Regions from separate parts of the Homo sapiens genome. Here all the other regions are linked to region 1. Evidence: promoter capture Hi-C in 16 types of primary human blood cells and fetal thymus (Javierre and others, 2016). All regions are on one chromosome and are shown on one strand. The core of a region is centred on a gene start or on the middle of the fragment in contact, and the rest is flanking DNA. Distances in the headings are between cores, read along the strand shown.

Evidence for each region. Contacts are between HindIII fragments. The CHiCAGO score rates a contact against its expected background, and 5 or more counts as called.
Region 2: a fragment that was not itself captured here is called in contact with the fragment with the promoter of CFL2 in region 1 in 1 of 17 cell types (neutrophils); the score reaches 7.1 in neutrophils.
Region 3: a contact is called between a fragment that was not itself captured here and the fragment with the promoter of CFL2 in region 1, in 15 of 17 cell types (total B cells, naive CD8 T cells, naive CD4 T cells and 12 more). The highest score is 13.6, in total B cells.
Region 4: a fragment that was not itself captured here is called in contact with the fragment with the promoter of CFL2 in region 1 in 3 of 17 cell types (total CD8 T cells, total B cells and naive CD8 T cells); the score reaches 6.1 in total CD8 T cells.

The regions. Positions count from the first base shown.
Region 1 is chr14:34,712,400-34,716,711 of GRCh38, reverse strand. It overlaps CFL2 (cofilin 2), which reads left to right and starts at 2,119. Exons shown (of 4, transcript NM_138638.5): 1 at 2,119-2,174; 2 at 3,151-3,458; 3 at 3,576-3,652; 4 at 3,735-4,312. The coding sequence starts at 2,172. The coding sequence ends at 3,847. RefSeq lists silencers at 1,683-2,272, 2,363-2,422. The HindIII fragment of the contact is 2,283 bases long and covers 350-2,632 here.
Region 2 is chr14:35,435,164-35,439,475 of GRCh38, reverse strand. No RefSeq gene overlaps it. Among named protein-coding and RNA genes, the nearest start is that of NFKBIA, 33 kb to the right of the region's middle. The HindIII fragment of the contact is 4,638 bases long and covers 1-4,312 here.
Region 3 is chr14:35,413,752-35,418,063 of GRCh38, reverse strand. No RefSeq gene overlaps it. Among named protein-coding and RNA genes, the nearest start is that of NFKBIA, 11 kb to the right of the region's middle. The HindIII fragment of the contact is 8,767 bases long and covers 1-4,312 here.
Region 4 is chr14:35,395,554-35,399,865 of GRCh38, reverse strand. No RefSeq gene overlaps it. Among named protein-coding and RNA genes, the nearest start is that of NFKBIA, 7.0 kb to the left of the region's middle. The HindIII fragment of the contact is 6,677 bases long and covers 1-4,312 here.

The sequences.
Region 1 (4,312 bases), core at 870-3,369:
CCAGAGACTATCTCTTAAATATATATATATAGAGAGAGAGACTTGTTTCTCTGACTCTGTAAGACCATAAATAATAAATTTGTGTTGTTTTAAACAAGTAATTTTATGGTAATTTGTTATAGCAACAGTCGAACGCTAATACATGTGGTATCTGACACTCAGATCCCCCTCCACTACACAGTGACCAAAATTCATGCAGCAATGATTGGCAATGCTGCCCCTTTACCAAGTGGTGGTAAGTTCTGGTTATAACTCACAGAGGTGAAGGCAGGAAGCTGCTACTGGCCCTGACATTCTCAGTGCCATGCTCACAAGGGCATGTAGAAAGGCTTCACAATTTTCAGAAGCTTCCTTTTCATTCTCTTTACAGCACTAAAGCATCTTAAATGTATTATTTCAGCACCTATTAAGCACCTACTATCTGTCAGGTTCCAGAAATTCAAAGATAACCAGGACTCAGATCCTTAAGGAGCTTACAGCGCAGTAGGGTGGCAGAAGACATAAACAAGTTATTATAATGTAACAAAATATATGCAAGACAAAAATAACTTCAGGAAAAGAATCTTAGAACATGTGAATTACCATCTCTGTTTGGGGAGGGTAAGAGAGAATGGGAGGCATGGAAAGGGGTTGGAGTCCGAGCTAGGGGGTGACTAGCATCTTTGGAATCCCCAGCTTTGGTGGGTAAGGTTCTGACACCCACTTTAGGCCCCAGTGTCATCAGACCTGGTCTCTGCTGGGGCTGCTGCAAATCTCTGAGGTTGGGAAGGGAAGGTAACCGCAAGATGAAGCGAACAGGAATTTGCTAATACCTACACATAGCAGATGATCAGAGCTCTGGAGAGACATTCTCCATGACTTCTTGGAAGTTCAACAGATAAAGTGAAAGGTTCCATAAATTGTAATGTACCAGCTAGATATAAAGTATTATCCACTTGCTTGGGATTCATGCTTAGACATTGGGAAATCCCTTCTCAATTTTTGTCTCTAAACGAAGTCTATCTTCCAATTAAGAAAACAAACCCAAGATATAGACAGAAAAATAGGTCTGTTTCAATGCCTAGCATGTTCCATTTAAAATACAGTAAATTTGGGCTGAAAGAACTTATCACGCAATCTAGGGCAAACACCATCTCATGACTTTCCTGCCTAACCTCAATCCTGAGACCACCAAAAACACACCATTTCCTACTGAACATTGATATACTCAGAAACTGAAATCTAAAGCTGGAAAGGGCCTTAACGATAATTTAATAACAGTTTGTTTTACACATGAAGAACCCTGAGGTATGGAGGAGTTAAGATTAAAAAAAGAGAAACTGCCTTGGCGCAGTTATATGGGCTTTGCTAGAAGAGGCTGCGTCGGCTTATTTGATATCAGCTGTCATAGCTGGAGCTTCATGAAATCTCTAAGAGAGAGTACAATCCATTTCCTATGAAGTCTAAAATGTAAAAGGATATTACTAAGGAATGCTACCACGTAATTTTTTAATCATAATTATTATTTCAACCAGAGTTTTGAAAAGTGATTTACCAACACTGCGTATCATTTTGTTTTTGCTAAGTACTATCAACTGGAGCAATCTCGTGTAGTATTTATTCTCATTTATCTCTAAACAACTGGGGGTTTTCCAAAAAGACTCAAAATGTCGAAATCCAGCCTCTTTCGGGAAAACCACAGGTAAATAAGGAAAGACACCTTCGCAGGAGTTCCCCTCACACGCACCCACCCCTGGCGCAGGGCCCTACGGAGGCGGTGGAAACGCCCCTCTGGGAGCCCAGCACTCTCTCCCACCGGCTTGACGGGTGATGCTCGGGGGCTGGAGGCGGCTCTGCCAGGCTCCCGGGCTCCGCTACCACCGCGTCGCCCCCCCCGGCCTGCAGGGCTCGCGCTCTGAGGTCAGGCCGAGGACGCGGACAGCCGGGGAGCCGGGGCCGCGAGACAGAAGGGCCGGCCTGGGAGCGGGTGGCGCCGGCTGGGGACCAGGCGTGCCCACGTGACCGCCCCGCCCGCTGCCTGCGGCCCGCCGAGCCCCGCCACCTCCCTCGGGCTGCAGCTCCCGGCGTGCCCCGCACTCTCCGCTGCCCACCCGCTCGCCCGCCCCTCCTTCTCCTCCCAGTGCCACAGAGCCGAAGCCCGAGCTGCCGCCGCAGCCACAGCCGAGGGCACTATGGTAAGACGAGCGCGCTGGCCGGGAGGCCGCGGCGAGGCGAGAAAAGCCCCCCGCACGGCCCCGGGAGTGAGGCCGCCATTTTAACCTGATTTTGGCCTCCAAGGTGGGCGCTTCTGCTCTGCGGCTCCGCTGCTCTCCAGCCGACCGGCCTGCCCTCCGGCCGTCAGGCCCTGCCCTGCTGCTCTTTGGATTTTGGGGGGCGGGGAGGGCCCGGGCGTCGGCGCAGGTTGGGGGTCGGGGCCGGGCGGGCGGGGGCGCGAGAGGGTCTGCGGACTGCAGCCGCTCGCGCCGCCTTTGCCCTTCGCTTCCTAATTTTACTTAACACGCGAGGCTTTAAAATTGGTACGTGCTGCGAACGCTGTGTGGGTCAGGGTCTGGACGGCCTGTAATAAAACCCTTACGGGGAGATTAAGGAAGAGGGAAAACACTTTTTAAAATGCTTTCTCGCCGTAAAAGCTTTTACACTCGATCAGTTAGTTTTGGAGTGTCTGCATGTGAGCTGTGTGTGGGCCGTGGGCGGTTTGGAGTTTACACTTGATTCTCTTTCCTTATGAGGAAACGTCAGTGGCTAGGATGACTTTAAAGAAAAAAATAGTAGAAGCATTAACTGAAATCCAAAAGTGTTTTTTTAAGGCCAGCCGAGTTGACACAATACAGAAGGTATTTTTGCTGCCACTCCTGAAGCTCTGACATCACCCAGTGAAATAGGAAACATTTCAGGGATGGGACAACTTGTATTTGTCCCTTTCGCTTCCACGTCCAAACCCCTTTAAGAAGGATGAATGGGCAGGATGAGTTAGACTCCTTCGCTGTATCGTCTACTGATTCTTAAAATGTGACAAATCTGATTGGACGACTTACATGGTACGGTGCAATTTTTGATGTCCAGACTAAAGTGAGTCTTCTCTAGGCAAACAGTAATTTTGGTTAAAACCAAAATACGTGTTCTGAATTACTGTTCTGTGTTTATTTTCAGGCTTCTGGAGTTACAGTGAATGATGAAGTCATCAAAGTTTTTAATGATATGAAAGTAAGGAAATCTTCTACACAAGAGGAGATCAAAAAGAGAAAGAAAGCAGTTCTCTTCTGTTTAAGCGATGACAAAAGACAAATAATTGTAGAGGAAGCAAAGCAGATCTTGGTGGGTGACATTGGTGATACTGTAGAGGACCCCTACACATCTTTTGTGAAGTTGCTACCTCTGAATGATTGCCGATATGCTTTGTACGATGCCACATACGAAACAAAAGAGTCTAAGAAAGAAGACCTAGTATTTATATTCTGGTGTGTAAAAACAAAAGAAAAAAGTACTTTTAAAATGCAAGGATTATTATTATCATAGTCAGTCTTACCTTTGTTTTTCTTATAAATGGGATTCAATAATTTTTTTTTTTTCTGTAGGGCTCCTGAAAGTGCACCTTTAAAAAGCAAGATGATTTATGCTAGCTCTAAAGATGCCATTAAAAAGAAATTTACAGGTACAAACTTGAATATTTGGGGCAGAGAAATTATTCTTTATTAATTATAATAAAGTAATAGGATAATGTTTTTTCTTTTTAGGTATTAAACATGAGTGGCAAGTAAATGGCTTGGATGATATTAAGGACCGTTCGACACTTGGAGAGAAATTGGGAGGCAATGTAGTAGTTTCACTTGAAGGAAAACCATTATAAAATGACAGTCAAGTGCCATCTGGATCTTAAGGAGCTTCCATTTCTCCAGCTCAGTCCATTGGAATAGTATTAGGTTTTGGTTTTTTGTTGTATTTCCCCCTTTCCACTGGGCCCTTCCAACACAATGAATGAAGGAAATATCATTTATTTAAGCAGCCTATCAGTGATTGCCATTAGACTGTTGAATACTGTTACTTTTATATAGAACCCAAGGAATGCCTTCCTGTCATATTTTAGCCAAAACAACTGGTTATATGCCTCCCTTGCAGCAAGCACTACAATGTATGTGATCGTCAATGTGAATAGCTTAGAATACTGCAAAGGATAAGCTAATTGAATGCCTTGAAAGTATTATCCACTGGTCAGATGGTCAACTTTTTTCAGTATTATTTATAGTTGGCACTTGATTGCAGTTCTGTGAGGCTTGAGCATTCATACACCTCACCTGCCTTGGCAAGCCTATTT
Region 2 (4,312 bases), core at 969-3,468, 720 kb before region 1:
CCCCTGAGACCCATATAGGACACACCTCCCATTTATAACAACTCTTCTTTTGCAAAGGATCCCACGGGGCTTCATTAATAACTCAATCTAGCCCCAGAGGTCATTGCTGCTGCTTCTGGGGCAAAGCACTACCTGATAGCACACAGAAACCCAGGATAGTCGTTTGAATGAGGAAAGGGAGGAGGGGCCAGGCCTGGTGGCTCATGCCTATAGTCCCGGCACTTTGGGAGGCTGAGGCAGGAGAATCCCTTGAGGCCAGGAGTTCGAAACCAGCCTGGGCAACATAGCAAGACCCTGTCTCTACTAAATTAAATAAACAAACAAATAAATAAATAATTTATAAAAAGAAGTAGAGGCTGGGCGCAGTGGTTCACGCCTGTAATTGAACTAAGATAGCTCCACTGCACCTCAGCCTCAGTGACAGAGCAAGATCCTGTCTCAAAAAAAAAAAAAAAAAAAAAAAGCAGAAAAGGGCTCCCACTATAGGCAGCTCAGGAAAATTACATACGACCAACTAACCTGGAATTTAGGCAAGCATTCTGACACTGACAAAGAATTAATGGCTGTCATTGGCTTTGAGGTGAGGGCTTCACTCTGAGTCCAAAAAACATTTAGAGCAGGTGGACTCCAAAGAATAAACTTTTTTTTTTGAGATAGGGTCTCACTCTGTCACCCAGGCTGGAGAGCAGCAGTGTGATCTTGGCTCACTGCAACCTCTGCCTCCCGAGTTCAAGTGATTCGCATGCCTCAGCCTCCAGAGCAGCTGGGACTACAGGTACGCACCAGCACGCCTGGCTAATTGTTGTGTTTTTGGTAGAGACAGGATTTTGCCATGTCAGCTAGGCTGGTCTCGAACTCCTGACCTCAGGTGATCCGCCCACCTCGGCCTCCCAAAGTGCTGGGATTACAGGCGTAAGCCATTGTACCTGGCCAAAAAACAAACCTTTTTTTTTTTCTTTTTGAGACGGAGTCTGTCTCTGTTGCCCAGGCTGGAGTGCAGTGGCGCGATCTTGGCTCACTGCAAGCTCCACCTCCCAGGTTCACGCCATTCTTCTGCCTCAGCCTCCCGAGTAGCTGGAACTACAGGCGCCCGCCACATACCTGGCTAATTTTTTTTTTTTTGTATATTTAGTAGAGACAGGGTTTCACCTTATTAGCCAGGATGGTCTCGATCTCCTGACCTCGTGATCCGCCCGCCTCGGCCTCCCAAAGTGCTGGGATTATAGGCATGAGCCACCGTGCCCAGCCCAAAAAACAAACTTTAAATCAGAGAATACTCTGGTTGAGACAAAAATTGGACAAATCTTGAAAGGAGTACTAATGCAATGGGGTTTCCTTATACAACGTTTCCAAATTCCAAAGGAATTCATTTTCTTCTGACATAATACAGCTGGATAGGGCCAGGCACAGTGGCTCAGGCCTGTAATCCCAGCACTTTGGGAGGCTGAGGCGGGTGGATCACCTGAGGTCAGGAGTTTGAGATCAGCCTGGCCAACGCAGTGAAACCCTGTCTCTACTAAAAATACAAAAATTAGCCAGACGCGGTGGTGCACACCTGTAGTCCCAGCTACTCAGGAGGCTGAGGCTGGAGAATCGCTTGAACCCAGGAGGTGGAGGTTGCAGTGAGCCGAGATCATGCCACTGCACTCCAGAGTGGGTGACAGAGTGAGACTCCATCTCAAAAAAAAAAAAAAAGAAAAAAAAAAAAAAAAAACCAGCTGGGTATTAATAAGGAAGGAAGGAAGGACTACTTGAAAAACCTAAGGTCAAACACATCAAGCAGGGAAAACACAAAGCAATTAATGTGAGAGAAAAGGAGATGGTAGCTCTAAAAGAAAGGGAAATAGGGTGTTAGTATCCTTTTGACCATCACAGGCCAAGCCCTCTTCAGCAGGAAAAGGTTCATTAACTAAATGGCCTGGAAGTTTTTAACACAGATGACTCAAAGAAAATTTGTTTCTGCGCAGGGAAGAATAAAGTTGATTTAAAATGAAAACCAAAAAAGTCTTCCAAAACAAACATTTCTTATTAACTAACTAAAAATCAATAAGAAAAAGAAAACAACTCAGTAGAACTATGGGCAAAGAGCATGAACAGGCAAGTCACACACAATACAGATTGCTAGAAATGTTAAGAGATGCTCAACCTCCCTTATAATTAATCAAAAACTAAAACAATAATGCAATTATTTCTGCCTATCAGATTGGAAAAAATTTTTAAATGTATAATATTCAGGGTTGACAAGAGGATTGGAAAACACGAATGGGGAAATACCCTCGCTGGGATTGTTAATTAGTACAACTTTTTTGGAGAGAAACACAACAATTTTTATTGCATTTTTAATGTTCATGCCCTTTGACTCAACATTTTTATTTCTAATAATTTATCTCACAAAAGCGTGCAAATGTTCGACATTTAGTATAGATTGTTTATTTATTTATTTAATTATTTTTGAGACAGTCTCACTCTGTCACCCAGGCTGGAGTGCAGTAGCGTGGTTTCAGCTCGCTGCAACCTCCGCCTCCCGAGTTCAAGCAATTCTCCTGCCTCAACCTCCCAAGTAACTGAGATTACAGACGCCCACTACCACACCTGGCTAATATTTTGTATTTTTAGTAGAGACAGGGTTTCACCATGTTGGCAGGCTGGACTTGAACTCCTGACCTCAGGTGATCCGCTCGCCTCAGCCTCCCAAAGTGCTGGGATTACAGGTGTGAGCCACTGCGCCTGGCCTGTTTATAATATTTTAAAAACCTGGAATAGGCCAAGCACAGTGGCTCATACCTGTAATCCCAGCACTTTGGGAGGACGAGGCAGGTGGATTCCTTGAGTCAAGACCAGCCTGGGTGACATGGGTGACATGGACAAACCCCATCTCTAAAAAAAAAAAGAAAAAAAAAAAACCCAGAATAACGCAACTGTCCATTAATTGAAGTTGTTTAAATAACTATGGTGCTTATAATGAAATGCTATAGAGCTATGAAATAGAATGTGACATATCTTCACGTAGAAGGTTGCATTAAGTAAGAAAGTAAGATGCCAAGCTGTATGAATAGGGTATGGTGGTGTTTATGGGGTGACAAAAATATTCTGGAATTAAATAGTGGTAATTGGTTGCATAACATTGTGGCTATACTAAAAGACACTGAATTGTACAGTTTAAAATGGCTAAAATGATAAATTTTATGTTGTATAGATTTTACTTCAAGTTTTAAAAAACAGTATGAATAACATGATCCCATTTTTGTGTGAAAAAAATATTTTTAGTATGTACATAGAAAAAAACCTAGAGAGAAATACACTAAGTAATTGGCAGTGATTATCTCTGAGTGTGATAGACACAGTATATTGTTAATAACCATGTTGTATATATCTGTAATGTTGGAAATTTTAATAAACAGAGGACTTAGAACTTTCATATCCAGAAAAAAAGATACTAAATCACTTGAAAAGTAGAGAAAGAGGTCTAATTATCTGAGAACAAATAACTGAGCCAGTAAAAAATTCCTTTCAAAGATAACTCAAAATAACTATTTCAGTGGGAATTGCATTATTTCAGAATCATGGGATTGTAAAGGTTTTGTGTGTGTGTACATTTCCTTAATAAAGAAAAAGGAGAACATGTACAAACGCTTCTTCAACGTAGTTAGATGCTAAAATTTAACCTTCATTGAGACTGAAAATGTAAACACTCATTTGTCTAGGAGGAATTGGTTACTAAAGTCTGTGTACCCTGATGCTTCTGTTGCCAACCAAAGCATCTGCTGGGTCCTGACCTTCAGATAATAAAAGTAATTATAAGACTCATGATCAGAAGATTGGGATTCTGGTTCCAGCTAAGCCACTAATTTGCCATGTGAATAGAGCCAAATCCTCTAATCTTACTATACTTCCATTTCTTTCTTTCTAAAAATGGGGAGATGCTACTGAAAGAGATCAGGATATGCCATCCCAAAATATGCCACTTTGGCATAAGGATTATTTTGAGCTGAAGGCAACTGATGGAGGAAAAGGTCTCTGCCCTCCCTTTATCTGCCTAAAAACAGGACATAAATTTTCCTTTGAGGAAGGTACTCCTCTATGCCAGGAAACTGAGAATGACTCATTACCAGAGATGTCACACCAAGATGACTCCTCATAAACAAGCCCTACTAAAATAACCCTTATCTCCCATTAGTTTCCTTCATATATTTCCTAGTCAATTCCCACAATATTTTCCCTTGAAGCCCAAACCCATCTTCTTTTTTTAAGAAGGGTATACAAACTCCAGGTTCTGGCCAGGTGCAGTGGCTCACACCTGTAATCCCAGCAC
Region 3 (4,312 bases), core at 866-3,365, 700 kb before region 1:
CAATCTTGCCATACTTGACACTTGGTTTACAAAGACCACTTTCTTGTACTTCTCACGGTCTTCAGGTTTTGGGCAGCCCTGTCTTCTGCTTTTCCTCACATCTCTCTGGATGCTTTTCCTCAGTTTCCTTGGCTGGCTTCTCAGCCAAGCTCACCTCTTTGGGTGTTCCCAGTCTTGGTGTTTGGACTTCTACACACAATTCCTGGGTGGCTTTGTCCGTTTCTCAAATAAGTCAATGACTTCCAATATACTGCATGCTCTTAGAACTCTCCACATTAAATTGGCTGTTTGTATCTACCAGGATCTTGAAATTAGTGTGTCCAGGATGGAGCCCATCATCTTCCCCTCAACCTGCTCTTCCTCCTGTTTTTCCACTACATAACCAAAGTCAGAAACAGAGCTCCTAGATTCTTCCTTGTCTCCTTCACATCCAATCAGTCACTCAGACCTCAAAATCCTTGTTCTTAGATTTCTCTGTAGCCATCTCACTTTCCAGTCACTGTCTTTGTTTTTTTTTTTTTGTTGTTGTTGTTGTTTTTATTTTTACAGAGTCTTGCTCTGTCGCCCAGGCTGGAGTGCAGGAGTGCAGTCGTGTGATATCTCGGCTCACTGCAACCTCCACCTCCCGGGTTCAAGTGATTCTCCTGCCTCAGCCTCCCGAGTGGCTGGGATTACAGGCATGCGCCACTGCATTCAGCTAATTTTTGTATTTTTAGCAGAGACGGGGTTTCACCATGTTGGCCAGGCTAGTCTCAAACTCCTGACCTCAGGTGATCCACCTGCCTCAGCCTCCCAAAGTGCTGGGATTACAGGCATGAGCCACTGCACCTGGCCTCCAGTCACTGTCTTTAACTGGCCACCAGCCTCATGCCTAACCTACTCCAGTTTATTTGCCACACTGTCTTCTAAAGCATACACCTGATCAGTAATCCACCACAGCTTTCAGGGTGCAGGCCCAGCTTCTCGGCTCGGTCACATGACTGTGTGCTGTGTCTTTCCTGCCTACTCATATCCCGCTACCACACAGCAAGCCCTGTGAAGCTGCTTTCACACCTCCCAGCCCCACCACAGGCTTAACCCTCTGCCTGCACATCCTTCTTCCCACTCCTGACTCTGACTTGTCTTTCAATAGCTGCCCTGGACCATCCCTCTCAGTGTGGTGTGGCTTCCCTCGCCTCATGCTCCCAGGCCACTTTGTTCAGGCCTCGGCCACATCTCTGATCACTCCCTACTAGAATTACTCATTTACCTGCTGGTCTTCTCACCAGCCTAGAAGCGCCTTGAGAGCAGGAGCCATATTTATTTTTATTTTATAAATAAAAATTTATTTTTATTATGCTCCATATCACAGCATAGTGCCAGGCACCAAAAAAAAAAAAAAAAGAGCTTCATAAATGCTTGACAGATTAATGGGTTTTGCTTTCCCTACCTACAGTGCTTTGCTTCTTTAGAGTTTTTTTTCTCCCCCATATTAACCCTGTTGTGTCAATATTTCACATTCCCTTTATCTTAATCAGGCCTGCGACAAAACATAGCTACAGGCAGTCAGGGACAGACATTTGAGCTTGAACTAAGAAAGTGAATTTACCCAGAGGGAAAGCCTCTGATCAGAAGTCTGGGGGCGGGAAGGGGTGACAGCCTGTCTGTGAGAGCCCTGACATTTTGAAAGCACCAAACTCACTGTCACCCTGAGCTTTTCCTGTGGGGAGCAACAGAGGTGGGGGCTTTTACCCTCCCTTGTGGGCAGGGCTCGAAAGCAAATTTCCCTGCTGAGTTTTCCTTTTGTGGTGCCTGTGACCACGAAGGAGGCTGCCCCAGGAATCCCCACCTATTTTTAGCCTCAGTTCAACACCCTGCAGACAACAACCCTCCCATATACCTCTAAGTTAATTTCCAGTCTTGTCACTGAGCTGGCCTGACAAATCGATAGACTCAATCTTGCTAGTGAAAAGACAAAGTGAGAAGGTTAAGGCCTTTAACAACAGAAAGCTGCAGTGATGCCCTGAGGCTCAATACGTCAAATAGCCTCCTGTACCACTTTTATAAAACAATTTAGTATATGTTCATATGTAATAGTATTTGAATGAAGTTCTCTGTGCCCAAAGTCCAAGATGTGAAGTCTACCCGGATCTAAACTGCCTAGGGTTTCCTCTTCAAGGGAAACTTTCCTGGGAAATCAGTTGTTCCAGATGTTGCCTTAGTCAGACTGCAAAGCATACATCATTCTCTGTACACCAATGGGCTTTTCATTTTAAATATTATTGGTTTATGTATACTCTGTTAAACTGGGTCAAGCTCTTGAGCTTATGAAATTTTGGTGTTGCAAATACCTCTGCTTCTGAAAGCCATTAAAGAGCACCCCAGAAGGGCAGCAGGTGGGCCTTGGCCACCACACCCCTACCTGGGCCAGCCAGTCATATGTCCATGGGCCGTTAGCCTTGCAGTCCTCAATGAGAGGTCTAAGTATGCATCACTTTGTCAGATGGCCTTTCAACCAACAACACTCATTCTCATTCTGCTTCCTTCCCACCATTCTATGTCCCCAGTACATTTCTAACATGGGGAATACTCCAGGCAAATGCTCATCTATTCCTCTAAACTAGAGCTTCTGCCCCAATTTCCTGTTAGATATCTTGCCCTGGGGAACTGGACTAAGCAAGCCTCCAGGACATCACCTATCTCCTTAACTCCTTAACTGAAGGTTTGAAAAGGAGCCTTCCTCCTCTACCCTGGGCTCCACCCCAGAGGTTACTCTCAGGCAACAGAAAAGAAAAGAAGAGAAGGAGGACACTATCTAGGTCTATTTATAATCTGTTCACTTCTACTCACATTCAATTCCTCTAGGATAGGATGGGATATGGTGGCTCTGATGTGCCCCCATCCTCCTAATAGCCTTTATTTCAGAGTGTCTGCATCCTTTGTAAAATGGGAATGGTAACACTTTACTTGCCTGAAAGCAGAAGCTGGACCCGATGGCCTCTTGAGATAATTTCTAGATAGAAAAGAATGAAATCGATTGCATGCAAAGTGAGGTATTAACAGAGGAGGAGGGTCCAAGAAAAATTATGACAGGTATGAAGCAAAGGGGATACTCATGCCTGAATCAATGGCAAGGGAAGCCCAGGGTAAGAGAGACACAGAAGAAATGAATGTCTCCTCCCCACCCAGCAGCCCCTGCCCCACCCAACACTATTCTGTGTTTAACTAGGGACACAAGCAATAACTAAGCAGTATAAGACAATATGTGGCCCAATATTCAAGGCAAGCTGTAAAAGCTAGCAGGATTTAGAAGAGGGCAGAGGGCTCCAAGAAGAGGAAGACAGAAAAGGAGTTTTGGAAAGGGTGGGTCCTGGCAAGGAAGCTGAAAGAAGGTGGTCCTAGGACAGGCAGGGAGAGGCCTGCATGAAGGCCAGAGCAGCTGGCACAGTGTTGGTGCTCGGGGGAAATGGTGATGAGGAGTGGCTGGGCAGGGTAGAGTCTGACTCTGGAGGACTTTAAATGCAGCTGAGGAATTCAGACCGTTTCCTGCAGCCCATGGAAGGTCAACAGAGGCTCTGTTACAGGAAATGATATAATGAAAATGCATATTAGAAGCCTCAGTGAAAAGAGATTTAGGCTGGGCACGGTGGCTCATGCCTGTAATTCCAGCACTTTGGGAGGCCGAGGTGAGTGGATCACCTGAGGTCAGGAGCTTGAGACCAGGCTGACCAACATGGTAAAACCCCGTCTCTACTAAAAATACAAAAATTAGCCAGGCGTGGTGGCACATGCCTGTAATCCCAGCTACTTGGGAGGCTGAAGCAGGAGAATTGCTTGAACCCAGGAGGCGGAGGTTGCAGTGAGCCGAGATCGCGCCATTGCACTCCAGCCTGGGCAACAAGTCAAAAAAAAAAAAAAAAAGAAAAAGAAACAAAAGAGAGATTTAATTGTATAATTGTAATATTTTTAGACTGCTTGGTTTTTTTTAATCACAGGAAGGTATTCTGTTTCAACTTTAAAAATAATTCATTTTTGCCAGGCTTGCGCCTGTAATCCCAGCACTTTGGGAGGCCAAGGAGGGTGGGTTGCCTGAGTTCAGGAGTTCGAGACCAGTCTGGCCAACATGGTGAAACTGCGTCTCTACTAAAAATACAAAAATTAGCTGAGTGTGGTGGCAGGTGCCTGTAATCCCAGCTACTGGTGAGGCTGAGGCAGGAGAATCACTTGAACCTGGGAGGCAGAGGTTGCAGTGAGCCGAGATCACACCATTGCACTCCAGCCTGGGCAACAGAGCAAGACTCCATCTCAAAACAACAACAATAACAAAAAGTAC
Region 4 (4,312 bases), core at 590-3,089, 680 kb before region 1:
GATTCTCTGTGCCTCAGCCTCCCGAGTAGCTGGGATTACAGGTGCCTGCCACCACGCCTGGCTAATTTTTATATTTTTAGTAGAGACAGGGTTTCACCATGTTGCCCAGGCTGGTCTTGAACTCCTGACCTCAGGTGATCTGCCCACCTCAGCCTCCCAAAGTGCTGGAATTTCAGGCGTGAGTCACCGCGCCCAGCTCTGCTCCATTTCTGTAGCCTTAGTCCATCCGGAACCCAGCACTGGCGGTCCCTCTACCAGTCTTATTCTCTGTCAAAGTGCCCGGGTTCTTCCCTGAAATTCCTTGTCCATCCCCAAGCACCTCAACACAGGTGTTAAATGACCTACCACAGGAATTAGGTCAGTTAGGTTCAGCTCTCAGCTAAGTGGGAGAGGTAAGATGGGAGTGGGGTGATATCCCCACCCTCATTCTCAAAAGAACAAAGGTTGGAAACTTGGCTCCCCAATTTTGGAACGATGCCCTTAGTACTTTCTACTCAGTCAAATGTGACTCTTCTTCCCTCTGTAAAGGGGTTAAATTTGTGCCAATTCACCCATACGCTGTCTCTAGTTCTGTGCTAGGTTGTAGAAACAGGACAAAGCTGTGCGCCACCCCCTCATCCCCAGCCTCCTTAGAGCCCAGCTCTTGCATAGGGGCGTCACCCTCCATGGTCAAGCAAGGGTGGGCCCCTTCTCACCCACTTGGGCCCAGTCTCCCACCTTTCTAGGCTTCAGCTTTTCTTCTTTCTAGGTCCTAAACCTTGGAAAAGGTTCTGTCATCTGCATAAATCTCGAGGTAGCTGGGCCCAGTTAAGCACTGAAGGCTGCCCCGGTTCCTTACTCTCTAGCTCTTCTCCCCATTTCTCATCCCCCCCCCCACCTTTTTTTTGTGTGTGTGTGATAGGGTCTCACTCTCTTGCCCAGGCTGGAGTGCAGTGGCATGATCTCGGCTCACTGTAACCTCCGCCTCCTGGGTTCAAGCAATTCTCCTGCCTCAGCCTCCCGAGTAGCTGGGACTACAGGTGCACACCACTACACCCGGCTAATTTTTATATTTTTAGTGGAGATGGGGTTTCGCCGTGTTGGCCAGGCTGGTCTCGAACTCCTGACCTCAAGTGATCCACCTGCCTTGGCCTCCCACAGTCCTGGGATTACAGGTGTGACCCACCACACCCAGCCCTCCCTGCTTTTCTTTTCTTTTTGTTTTAAATTTATTATCTTTCTGTCCTGCCTGTTGGTTGGGTGACTGGAGCCTGGAGTTCCCTAAAGGAAAATTTTAGAAGGGAAACATTCTAATCTGTAGAAAATCTTCAAATTCCTAAGCAAACAAGAGCAAAAGATCTCAAAGTAAACAGGCCAGCAGACGGAGAGTCTTCTTTAATGCACTTTGATTTCCTCCAAGAAGTTACAGATTGTGTGGGGACAGGTAGGACTAAGAGTGCCTAGAGAAAGGGGAAGTGATATGAGGGGGAAATAATATATCACATCAGCAACTTCCTTGAATTCAGTTCCTTGATTCCTTCTGCCTGCCTTATCCATCAGGATACATTTCCTGTAGCGGCCACGTGTACCAAGTCCTTCCAGAAAGTAAGGATTTTTCTTTAAAGAGGGAACAAACTAGTCTGAGCAATCTGAAGACCTTCCCCTGGGGCCTGGAAATTCAGAAGGCTGGGAGCTTGGGTGGATTTGCATGGAAAGTTCAGTTGCTACTGGAAGTGATTAAGTGGTGACAGAATTGAGTCTGTCAGATGGGTCTTCCTTCCCCAAGACTTCCCACCCCCGTACCCACCCACTCCCCCACCCCCAGCTTTCTGCCAGATTTTCATTAACTTGCCTTAAGTGTAGCTGAAATTTCATTTGGCAAGAAAAGTCTGAGTTGTGGAACTCCAGTCTGAAACATGCCCAAGAAACATTCCCCAACCTCTGGTGCCTGGACAAGAATATCCTAGGCTGTTTCCCCATTGAAAGAGAGCATTACAGAAACTGAAACTGGACCTCACCTGTGTTTCCCTCCTAGAGAAGTACGACTCTCCAACCCATTCCTTCATTTGCATCAAAAAGAACTATTCTCCAGGCCTCCTGCCAAGGGCAGGAATAAGAGGAATAAGTCATGGCCTCTGCCCCTAAGAGCTCCTTGCTTAGGTGGAGAGGGAGACAGACAACTGCATGGAAAGGCGTGATGAGATGAAAGCCCATAGCACGGGAGCTGAGCCCAGGCACCAGCGCGGAGTGCAGGTGGGAGAGACGGGACCCGAGCTCATATTCCAGTTAGCTATTTACCTGCCAGTACTATATTATCTTATCCCATGCCCCAAGTGACTGTGGCAGGCACCCTTTTCACAGGGGGCAGGAAGTATGACCCAGCATCAGCCAATCTGAGTCATTGACAAGTAGGACTGGACTCTGAACACTGACATGAAAATAGGGCCAAGGCCCACAAACCGGCCAGCAATCCAGGTAAGTGTGACCAGGTGCGGGGGCTCATGCCTATAATCCCAGCACTTTGAGAAGCTGAGGCAGGAGGATCATTTGAGCCCAGGAGGTCAAGACCAGCCTGGGAAATATAGGGAGAGCCCATCTCTACAAAAAAAAATACATTAAGGCCAGGCACGGTGGCTCACACCTGTAATCCCAGCACTTTGGGAGGCTGAGACAGGCGGATCACCAGAGGTCAGGAGTTTGAGATCAGCCTGGCCAACATGGTGAAACCCCATCTCTACTAAAAATACAAAAAGTAGCCAGGCCTGGTGGTACGTGCCTGTAATCCCAGCTACTTGGGAGACTGAGGCAGGAGAATCACTTGAATCCAGAAGGCAGAGGTTGCAGTGAGTGGAGATCGTGCCATTGCACTCCAGCCTGGGCAACAAGAGTGAAACTCTGTCTCAAAAAACAAAAAAGAAAGAAAGAAAGAAAGTCAGCCTGGGTCACACAGCCAGTAAATGGCAGAGCCAGGCTCTAGGTATATATTCCTAACCTGGGGATAAAGCAGCTTCCAGGCCAGGCACACTGGCTCACTCCTGTTATCCGAGCACTTTGGAAGTCTGAGGTGTGCAGACTGCTTGAGCCCAGGAGTTCGAGACCAGCCTGGACAACACAGTGAAACCCCATCTCTGCAAAAATACAAAAAATTAGCTGGGAGTGGTGGTGCGCACCTGCAGTCCCAGCTTTCATGCACGTCCGTGTGAAGAGACCACCAAACAGGCTTTGTGTGAGCAAAATGGCTGTTTATTTCACCTGGGTGCAGGCGGGCTGAGTCCGAAAAGAGAGTCAGCGAAGGGAGATAGGGGTGGGGCCGTTTTATAGGATTTGGGAAGGTAATGGAAAATTACAGTCAAAGGGGGTTGTTCTCTGGTGGGCAGGGGTGGATCTCACAAAGTACATTCTCAAGGGTGGGGAGAATTACAAAGAACCTTCTTAAGGGTGGGGGAGACTACAAAGTACCTTCTTAAGGGTGGGGGAGATTACAAAGTACATTGATCAGTTAGGGTGGGGCAGGAACAAATCACAATGGTGGAATGTCATCAGTTGAGGCTGTTTTTACTTCTTTTGTGGATCTTCAGTTACTTCAGGCCATCTGGATGTATACGTGCAAGTCACAGGGGATGCGACGGCCTGGCCTGGGCTCAGAGGCCTGACACCAGCTACTCAGGAGGCTGAGGCGGTAAGATTGCTTGAGCCCAGGAGGTGGAGGTTGCAGTGAGCCAAGATGGTGCCAGCCCGGGCAACAGAGCAAAGCCCAGTCAGGGAAAAAAAAAAAAAAAAAAAAGCAGCAGCTACCAAGCACACACAGGAATTAACAAAAGTGTTTTCAGGTCATCAATCGTCAATATGTTCCTTATGTATCTGTTGCTATACTACCAAAACTGGGCAAATATTACAAAGGATGGTTTGAATTTCTGATGTTTTATGTTAATGGAAATACTGTCTCATGGAAACTATATAATAATGCAGAAAATGCAAGTTCTGAGACCTCAGGAGACCCCAGTAAACTGAACAATCCTGTGGGACTCAGACAGGTATCCTACTTCATCTTCTCTGAAATCTTTTTTTTTTTTTTTGAGACAGAGTCTCACTCTGTCGCCCAGCCTGGAGTGCAGCGGAGCGATCTCGGCTCACTGCAAACTCCGCCTCCTGGGTTCACGCCCTTCTCCTGCCTCAGCCTCCGGAATTGCTGGGACTACAGGTGCCCACCACCACACCAGGCTAATTTTTTGTATTTTTAGTAGACACCAGGTTTCGCCGTGTTAGCCAGGATGGTTTCGATCTCCTAACCTCGTGATCCGCCCGCCTCGGCCTCCCAAAGTACTGGGATTAC